Regions from separate parts of the Homo sapiens genome. Here region 2 is linked to region 1. The links are contacts of gene promoters, found by promoter capture Hi-C in blood cells and fetal thymus (Javierre and others, 2016). All regions are on one chromosome and are shown on one strand. The core of a region is centred on a gene start or on the middle of the fragment in contact, and the rest is flanking DNA. Distances in the headings are between cores, read along the strand shown.

Region 1 (5,349 bases), core at 95-2,594:
TTGTCAGGAGTCTATGATCAGACTGTGGAGGGCAATTAATAACAATACTGTACAATCTATTCATCAATAATAGACAGGCAGGTTGTTCTTCATTGTTCCCCACAACTGCTGAGTAATAAAAGCCTTAATATAAGTAATATAACAGCCTTCCCAATGAAGGGGTGCGGGAAAGGGCTTCTCAAAATAATATTTGACTTCAGTGATTCTAGCAGAGACACAGAGGAAGAAGATGGACTCAGCACCAAACTTGATATGGAGACTAAATATTTATAAGAGATTGTCCCAAGAAGAGAAAAAGGCAAGAAAGGAAAATTTCTTACTCTGAGCCTCCACAATGGACTTCATTCTGAGTCTTTCCAAAGAATTTAAGGTTCAAAATCATTGTCACCTCAAATCAGAGCTCCTTTAAGATTAAAAGTTAGATTCATTTGAATAATTAGTGTTTATTTTTCCAAACAGTTTCTTATCTGATAAACTTCTATTTCACAAATTCTTCTAGAGTTCATTCCGTTATTCAACATCTAATATCTGGAAATTTAGAATGTGCCTTCTCAAATTTATAAGGCTCATTTTGAAGCTGGATTTACTCAGTAGGCCAGTTTAAACTAAATGGCAGATCTCTCCCCATCAACTGGTGCTTGAAACATCACAAGGCCTGGGATGTTCCCTGGGTCTCTACTTTCCAAATTCAGCACAGAAATGGCTCAGCCCCACCTCTTCCAGTGAAACCGAAACAGCGCCTGTGCAAACTCCACGCCTATTCTCCTCACAGTGACCCACCCCGCCCCCACCAAGGTGCTAATGCGCAGGCGCTACGCTCTCAGTGCCTTTGAGTAGGGCTGTGAGAAATCTACTGTCCAGTGAAATCTAGAAGTGGTAGAATTCAATCCCCTCCTTTCTTCGGAGGCAGAGGCGCCACTTCCTCCTACTACCCGTCCAGAAGCGCGTCCCAAACATCGCTCTCTCTCCGAGCAAGGTCCTTCGCTCTCTGGCAATCCCCATTGTATCCCTATCCGCAGCTCGTTTCTAATCTCACTCAGCCGCCAGCCTTCGCTAGGAGGATAGAGGCACTTGGCTCCCTAGGATCCGCACCAGTTTTTTGTCTGCCTGTTTAGGCCACGGAACCTATGGACCCCCCCACCCCCAACCTCGCCCCAAACTAGGAAAAGCATTATCCCGGTGCTTTGCCCTCCCTCCTTCGCCCTTCTCACCCACTTAGTGTTGAGTGCTTACCTCGGGTGTGGTGCGGTTACGAAAGGAATCAGCGGAACCCAGATCAGGCCGCTGCTGGGGCAGGCGGATTCAGCGAGATTTTTCCTGGGTCTCCAGTGCCGCTTCAGACAATGAAATCAGCGTGTCCGATCATCAATTCTCATCATGATCGTGACGTCACAAAAGACAGCGGCCAATGGGAGCCTGCGATCAGCTCAGGACAGTCCCTGGCCTCAGCCCAGAACCCAAGAGTTGGGAGGGGGGAAGAGAGATGGCTGCCTGCAACTGGACTGCCTCTTCCTCACACAAATCAGCTACATCTACGGCCAGGGCTCTCTATACCTTCCTGAATAGCTGTGAACACCGAGCATCCCTGTGACTATAGTAGTTACATGCCAGCCATTTGAGCAGGTGCTGCCTGGCCTTCCAACTTGACATTGGGTTTTAACAAAATTGTTACATGCTGCCAAAATCAAATGATAGCATAAGGAAATACAGTCCTTTGTGGTCAGTGTTCGATTGACAGGTAAATATTCAGTTTTACTAAAATCAATAAGGTGTCCATCGAGCCTTTAGAATTTTACAGTAAAAGCAAGTGTACTATTATACGTGACTGGTTGGCTCTGATGACTGAGGAAAGAAACTATGGTTTTTATTCATCCAACCTCAATTCCTATTCTGGCAGAAGCTTCTTGGGTGATCACCATTATACCATTCCAGAAAAGAAGTCAAGCCACATGTTACATCATTTAACAGTCACTTGATATACTTCCCAGATTTGCTGGATGCCATGAGAGATATAGAATTCATTGATTCTCTGCTATCATAGAACTTGCAACATCGTTTGGAAGACAAGATTAGCACACAGTAAATATTCACAACAATAAAATAAAGTACATGATCATGTGCTCAGTCATTAACTACAGACAAGAGCTACATTATTTAATTATTGGAGACATCAGTGAGGTGAAAAGTCAGGGAAGCATTTTATGTAATTAAAACTTGAGATGGTTCTTGAATGGTGGATAAGAGCAGATGGAAGTCACCGTCTTAAAGGGGAAAGATAGGCAAAGGTAGAGACGTATAAATTCATATGATGTGAGGAAGCCCATGATGAAATCAGCTTGACAAATAGAGGGCATATGCTGAGGACTAGTGGTAGATGGAATTGGCTAATAATAAAAGCCTTTGAAAATAGGCAGATAACTTTTATTTGATTAAAAGCCACCAAAAGCCATAAAGCATGTGACCTCAATCCTCTATAGTCAATTATCTACAGAGGAGTTTAGGTGATTTTTTAAAACAAAAGCCAGATTATGCTCAACTTCAGATTGTTCAATGGTTTCCTTTCACATATACAATAAAATGCAGATTTCTTACCATGTCCTCAAAGCCCTAAATGATCTGGCCTCCGCCATCTTTCTGACCTCACCTCCTGTCACTCAGCCACTAATTCACAAATATATTAATCTTCTATTTCTCAAACAAGTCAAGCTCATGTCCACAGCAGTGACCCTGTACTGTTGTACTGTCTGATCTTTATATGACTTACTCCATCACTTGATTGAAATCTTTGCTCAAATGCAACCTCTTTAAAGAGGTTTTCCTATTTAAAATTGTGATATCCTTAACACTCTCTATACCCTTTTTTCTGTTTCATTTTTCTTCATAGTATTTATTATTATTAAATGTATTTTATATATTTAGTTATTGCAAATGTAAGCTCTATGAAGGCAGGGATTTTTGTCTGTTTTGTTTATTATTATATCCCTCAAATCTAGAAAGCCTCTAAATACAAAGTAGACAAATAAGTAAGTACGTATTGAATGAATGACTGAAAGCACATTTTTCAAGTCATTAATTTGCATTTTCAGTAACATTGCGATAGGCTGGAGTGAGAGAGACCAGTTAGACAGTTGTAATGCTAACCCAGCTTCTAGGTGACACACCCCTAGATTAGGGTGTTAAAAATGATGAAATATGAGACTTTCAAAGAAGGAATTATATGGGTAAAGTGGAGGATTCAGAAAAAGCCTATTGATAATTGATTAACGTATTCATAAATTACGTTTATGAATTACCTGAAACTGAAGTGATATGAGAAAAAGGATCAGAGTCCCTACCCTTGAAGGGTTTATAATGCAAAGACACAAGAAGACTTGTATGAAATCACAGTACAAATAGAGGCAATTAAATTAATCCAATTTTTCCTTCCTCTTTTCCCCTCTCACTCTGTAGCTAAGCCACTAGTATGTTTGAAGACTGTACCTTCAAATTAGGCCCCAAATCTGAATACTCTGTACCTCCTCTATCACCGTTACACTAAAGTCACTGTAACTTCTAGTTTGAAATACTGCAAAAGCATCTTACATCGTTTATTTTCTTCCACTCTTGTCCTTCTTCAAAAGTTTCTCTTAACATCAGTCAAAATATTCTTTATAAAGTTTGAATCAGACCATATCACTACCTGATTTAAAGCCCTCCAAATGCATCTCATTACATTAACAATAAAGTCCCAAGTCCTTTCTATGGTGTATTTCCCACCATTTGTTCCTGCCCTGGCTCATTATGCTGTAGCTACTCTGGTCTTTTTGGTTATCTGTTTTCTCTCTGGAATGCCTATTTCCTCTTCAGAGACTTTGCATTTGCTATTATTTCTTGGGAAACTCTTTCCCCAGATCTTCACATAGCATACTTCACATAATTCAGGCTGTCTGCTAAAATGTTACCTTCTCAGATGGGACTTCATGGACCAATCAATTTAAAATAGCATTGCCCCACCACCACCACAATTATCTGTCTCCTGTATCTTCTTGCTGTGCTTAATTTTTCTCATATCACTATGGAAAAATACATTATTAGTTTTGTTGGTTAGTTATTTTGCCTTTCCCCAACAGAATGAAAAGTTCAAGGGGGTAGGAAGTTGCCTCTCTTATTACTGTTATATCTCCAGTACCTAGAGTTGTAGTGGTACCTAGCATTAAGTAGGCACTCAATGGGTCTTTGTTGAATGAATAGATAGGGGAGAGCATAGATTGTGTAGTGCAGTAATAGGTATTCAGGGATGAGAGATGTTTTCAATACATGCCTAAGATACCGGTACCTGTCCTGTTCACAATATATCAATTAAAAGCATGTTTATTGAACTTGTAAGTAAAAAGTATCTAAGTAGAATAATTAAACCATGGATATTAACCAAGATTTCAAAGATCTCAAAAGACTCAACAAACAAATGCAATAAAATGAAGTTTGACATGGATAAACAGTAAGTCTTGATTCTAGGTTTACAAAAATCAGTTGCATAAGTACAGGAAGGGCAATAAACACCTAAGTTGGGAAGTTCATCTAAAAATTCTGTAAATTCAATATGAACTGGTATAACAAAGCTGTTAAACAAGATAATTCATACTTAAACTACATTAATAAAAAGTTATTATCTGAATCAAGAGAGTTAAGGGTTCTACTAGTCTCTACCCTAGTCAGACCACACTTGGTCTCTTCTGTTGATTATCCTTATTTTAAAATAAACATTCACAAATAGCTGCATTTAGAGAAGAAAAACCAGGATGATGAGGCATCTAAAAAATACATGATTTGAGGCAAGTCTCCAGGAGCTGAGGATGCTTAGCTTAAAGAGGAGAAGATCTCAAGAATATATAACTACCTTCAAATATTTGAAAGACTGCTGAGCAAAGACAAATGTGACTTATGTTGTGGTTTTCCAGAGGGCACTACCAAGGCCAAAATGGATAACTGATGGGAAAAAAAAGTCTCAGCTTAAAATTCAAGTGTTCAAAAATGATAGAGACTGTTTTGTAAAGTCAAAAGGCCTCAATCACTGGGAATGTTTCAGTGACCATCAGTCAGCAACGTTGAAGGATTATCTATATTGAGTGACTGCTAAAGTTGATTTCAACACAAAATTTACCGATTTTTGGATTATGTCAGAAGGAAGTTAGTCAGGAAAATGCCTTAAAGAAAAAAGTGAGTTTGGTATTTTAAGATTTGGTTTAGTCTGGTGGAGCTGAATCTAGGTTGGGGTACCACTAATAAAAGATAACCAATTTACTGCTCTCCCATTCTTCATTGGGGGAAAAAAACATGTTCACAGTGCATTTTGGGTGAACATAAAACTGC
Region 2 (4,950 bases), core at 2,158-4,657, 540 kb after region 1:
AATATTACCCTGATATTACAGCACATCAATAAAGAAAACTATAGACCAATATCCCTGATGAATATTGATGCAAAAATCCTCAACAAAATACCAGCAAATCAAATTCCAAAACACATTCAAAAGATCATTCATCATGACCAAGTAGGATTTATCCTAGCGATGCAAGGATGGTTCAGCATATGCAGATCAGTTAGTGTGGTACATCATATCAACAGAATGAAGGATTAAAATCATAATAATCATTTCAACTGATGGTGAAAAAGCATTTGATAAAATTCAACATCAGTTCATGATAAAAAACCTTCAAAAAACTTGCTATCACAGGAAGCTCGCCCTGTATTTTTCCCTGGAGAAATGGTACAGTATTCTGTAAATCAGTATTCACAGCTACTTTATAGAATATAACTGCTGGAAATAACAAGAATCAGCTATATTTTTATTGCAGGCACAGTTGGAGGGGGTGAGTCTTACGGGTAAGTTACCTCATGCTCATATTTTAGCCCTGCTGTTTGTAAATTTCCATGTGAGAGATATCTGTTTTAGGACCTGTTATATTTTGTAGAGAGCCAGTATTTAATCTCTCATTGATTTTAAATAAGTCGTAATTTTGACTTGACGAGTTATTATTTCGAGTTACAAATAGTTTTAAGTTAAGGTCTTTCCTCTCGTGAAAACTCGATTATCTCTGCTCACTTTTAATGCTGTTTGATTAATGACAGCCTCATGAGGCTGTAAGTTTTTTATAACACCCCAAACTCTAATAACTTTTTGAATATCTTATTTGGTTTTCTAAATTGGAGGCTGGCAATTTTTTTTTTTTTTGTAAATGGCCACATGGTAAATGTTTTAGGCTTTGCAGCATGCATAAGATTTCTTGTCATATATTCTTCTTTGTTTTTACAAATCTTTAAATATGTTTTTTAAAAACATTTTAAACTTAGAGTCCAGGCCAGATTTAGCCCAGAGTTGTAGCTTGCCAGTCTTTTTTCAGAAATTTTCAATGTGCTGTACCATTAGCTTTCCCTCTTTAAGATAGTGACATGTACTTCACCAGTATAACTTAGACTTGTAGATACCCTAGTGTGCCAGTCTTCCTGATTTCTTTTGACAAAAATTGCAACCTTTTTTTGTTTGGAGGTAATAAATATGTTGGATAGATTTTATTGTTATCACTGTTCTCACTAGAGCCTGATTAGCATGAAATACATGTGCAAAGAAAAATGAGGAATAAGCAGAGCCACTTAATTTTTTTATTCAGCAAACAGAAGGAATGGGAAACTAAACTTAATTGCCTATGTACCAAGTGTAAGCCATTTTAATATAACTCCTTATTTAATCCTTGTGATAATCAACAGGATGGCATACACATTTTTTCAGATATTTAACCTAATAATAGTTAACCTAATTAAGACATTTTCTAGAATTTTCTGCAATGATGGGCTTGTTTTATATCTGTGCTCTACATTATGGCTGTTGAGCACTTGAAATGGAACTAATGTGACTGAAGTTTTTATTTATTAATAATTTTAATTTCAATTTAAATAACCACATGTGGCTAGTAGTAACCATACTGGGCAGCACAACTTGAAGAGCTTCAATAATTGATTCAAGTTTAGACAGTAAGTTCCGTGTAACTCCTAAGCTCATATTTATGTGTGTGTGTGTGTGTATATATATATATATGTATTTTTTTGTTGAGACAGAGTTTTGCTCTTGTTGCCCAGGCTGGAGTGCAGTGGTGCTATTTCGGCTCGCTGCAACCTCCACCTCCTGGGTTCAAGTGATTCTCCTGCCTCAGCCTCTCAAGTAGCTGGGATTACAGGCATGCACCACCACACTCAGCTAATTTTGTATTTTCAGTAGAGACAGGGTTTCACCATGTTGGTCAGGCTGGTCTTGAACTCCTGACCTCAGGTGATCCACCCGCCTCGGCCTTCCAAAGTGCTGGGATTACAGGCATGAGCCACCACTCCCGGCCCTAAGCTCATATTTTTTTTCCATTGTGCCATACTGCCTCCTCAATAAAAGTCAAGGAATCTATGAAGACAGTAGGAAAGAATGGGTGGACCTTTATTACCTTACAGAGTAAAAAATGTGGAGAAAGTACTTAGGCAATTTTCAAGGTATATTAACTTTTAGGCCATGAGCTCAATTAGTAAATCCATAATCTGGAATATTAGATCATAATTATCAGCAATATCTATGAAATTCTTTTATAGTCTACATATTATTATTACATTATATGAAGTAACATGAGTATACTCTGTGATCATTAGTGTGTTGAAAAAATTCAGCATACTTTGAAAGTATTTGTCTTATATCCAGGGAGTAGTCTCTTAAGAAGAAGTAAAGTCTAGTCAGGTATTTCAAAAAAAGCTTTTCAATGTTATAAAATTTTACATCCTTCCTATAATATAGAGATTTTATTAACAAAATTTCCCTGGTTCATGGGGACCATACTTGCTGGCATCAGTTTTAATATACATTTAAATTATACCTAACATAGGTATGGTGTGGAAATCTTGTTATTTCATTAATGAATACCAACTGGGTATAAGAAATAAAAAAATTGATGTCTTTAAGGGATGCATGTGCAGATAAATCATTCTGTGATGCTGTTTCCTGTACTAGAAGGAGGCATGGGGGAGGAGAATAAAAAAAAATTTATCTTCTTAGTGTTGACTCTTAATTTTACCCTGTATTTTTACAGCCCCAATCTAAATCAGAGTCCTGCCCAGTTTAAACAGGAAATTACTTAACTGATTGATGCCTGAGTAGCTTCCCTTGCTCTTCTCAGAAAATATTAAAAACAGTGTCAGAAATGAAGTATAGGTACTATCACTGTCATTGGAGAACATTTAGAATCCTTTAGCCAGTGATTCTTCCAGGTGTTGCACAATTTTATTTGTGTGTAAAACAAGGAGACTGCTTCCCTCATAATGTCCTTTGTCAAATTCAGGAAGCTTCTTTCCCATCTAAAGAATCAGAGTGTTAAAATATTTGTACCTTGGAAAGCTTTACAGTTGGCCTTGTTGAATGGATAATCTTTGGGAATTATTTTGGTACCTGAATAACACTAGAAGACTTTATTCTTAGAGCCAGTACTTTTCCTCATTCTTAATTCAAATCAAGTTATAGCTAAAACAAAGATCACTTTTTGCTTTAGATTTAGCAAGAAACAGGTAAAAGGGAATGCATTGGGAAAATCAGGGGCAAAGGATTTATAATAGAAAGAATTCATTTTTTATGGATAATGTTAATATAAATTGTATTTCAAGATGCAGCCTGCATCACTCAGTACTCCAGACCACTCTTATCCTTTACTTTCTCCAGAGCATTTATCAACTTATAATATAACATATAGTTTATTGTGTTTATTGCCTGCCTCCTCTCTACTGGAATGTCATTTGTATGAGAACAGGAATCTTTGTTTTGTTCACTGATATATTCTAAGCACTAAGACCAGAGTCTGGCACATAGTAGGTGTTCAATTGATGTTTGTGGACTGAATGAATATCAAGACCAATCCCACTCCATTCCTCAGATTTTAGTAATTATTACATTGCTATATTATTACATAATAATATTCCAGATAAATATTATATTGCTATATTTCTTATGAAGTAGTTAACAAACAGGTAAAAATAGTGCTCTGCCATCCAGTATGAGAAGATAATTTTATGAACTATGTCTTAAAAATGTCTGAGGTAATTTGGAGTGTTTGAGTATTTAATATATTAAAGTGAAACCAATAGATTTCCTGAGATTCCTCCAGTATTTATTAGGAAATGGAAGATGGAAAGCTTTTCAACTAAAAAGATGTTTTTGATATATCTTTCTTAGATGGGAAAACTGACAACCATGCCTGCAGGTCTGATATATGCATCTGTAAGTGTACATGCAGCCAAACAAGAGGAATCCAAAAAGCAGCTAGTGAAACCAGAGCAGGTAATTTGCCTACAAAGGTTTATGAACTTTGTATAATATCAAGATGACACAAAAGCTATATTTTTTAAAATTATCTTTGCCCATCAAAAATGTCTTAGAAGTCTTTGTTAGGTAGATATTAAAAGTTGAGAGAAATAGTTATGAAGTATCTCAAAAGACAATATGTAACTCAAACATCTAAAATTCTAACTCCAGTGAAAAACAACTAGTGATTTTTCTTAATGAATAATCAATAAGTAGTGGAGGGTGTTAGACGTTCTAGGCAGTCTGATTTTTCTTTCTTGAAAAACTTACACAGGTACATTCAGTATTAGGAAACTTCAGTTTAACAAATTCATTAAGATCTCAGTTTTGGAAGTGACCTTAGATGTTTTCTAGATCAACCTTCTGTATGGTACTGTAATTCCCTCTATAGTAGGCACATTTAGTGGCCATATATCTTCTACATGAATAAAACTCTAGGTAAAGGAGCCTAAGGAGCCCATTCCGTTTTCTAAATCCTCTCATTTAACTTAAGGTCCTTTCTTATATCAGACAGAAATTTGTCTCATAATAACTTCTACCTGTTGGTACTGTATCTCTTGCATTGGTGCCATACAGAAAACTCTCTTTCAAAAAACAAGCCTTTAAATATCAGTTATACTTTAAGTAATTTTGCTTCCAGGATAAACATTTTAAAGCGTTTAGTAGCTTCAACTATTTCTCATACATCACAGCTTTGAGTTCCTCACTATCATGATCAGCCTCTGCCAAGCATGTTCAGGATAGTGTTTTCTTCAGGTGTAAGTAGTTTGTTTTTCTTTTTAAAAAACATTTTGGTTTTTGGTGCCATGACTTGGATGTATGAACCACGGTGTTTTGACTGCTACAGGATAGAGTCAGTCTCTGACTTTTCCTCTTCTAGATGTTATATTTCTATTAATGCTGCCTAAGATCACATTAGTTTTTATATTTGAGTGCTCAAAATCAACCATGCTCATAAGCAGCCTTTGACCATGACAT

What was found. Contacts are between HindIII fragments. The CHiCAGO score rates a contact against its expected background, and 5 or more counts as called.
Region 2: a contact is called between a fragment that was not itself captured here and the fragment with the promoter of HDX in region 1, in 1 of 17 cell types (erythroblasts). The highest score is 7.2, in erythroblasts.

What each region holds. Positions count from the first base shown.
Region 1 is chrX:84,501,109-84,506,457 of GRCh38, forward strand. HDX (highly divergent homeobox) reads right to left here and starts at 1,345. Exons shown (of 11, transcript NM_001177479.2): 1 at 1,234-1,345. RefSeq lists a silencer at 1,369-1,518. The HindIII fragment of the contact is 2,765 bases long and covers 1-1,898 here.
Region 2 is chrX:85,042,603-85,047,552 of GRCh38, forward strand. It overlaps APOOL (apolipoprotein O like), which reads left to right. Exons shown (of 9, transcript NM_198450.6): 2 at 3,844-3,948. Among named protein-coding and RNA genes, the nearest start is that of APOOL, 41 kb to the left of the region's middle. The HindIII fragment of the contact is 788 bases long and covers 3,014-3,801 here.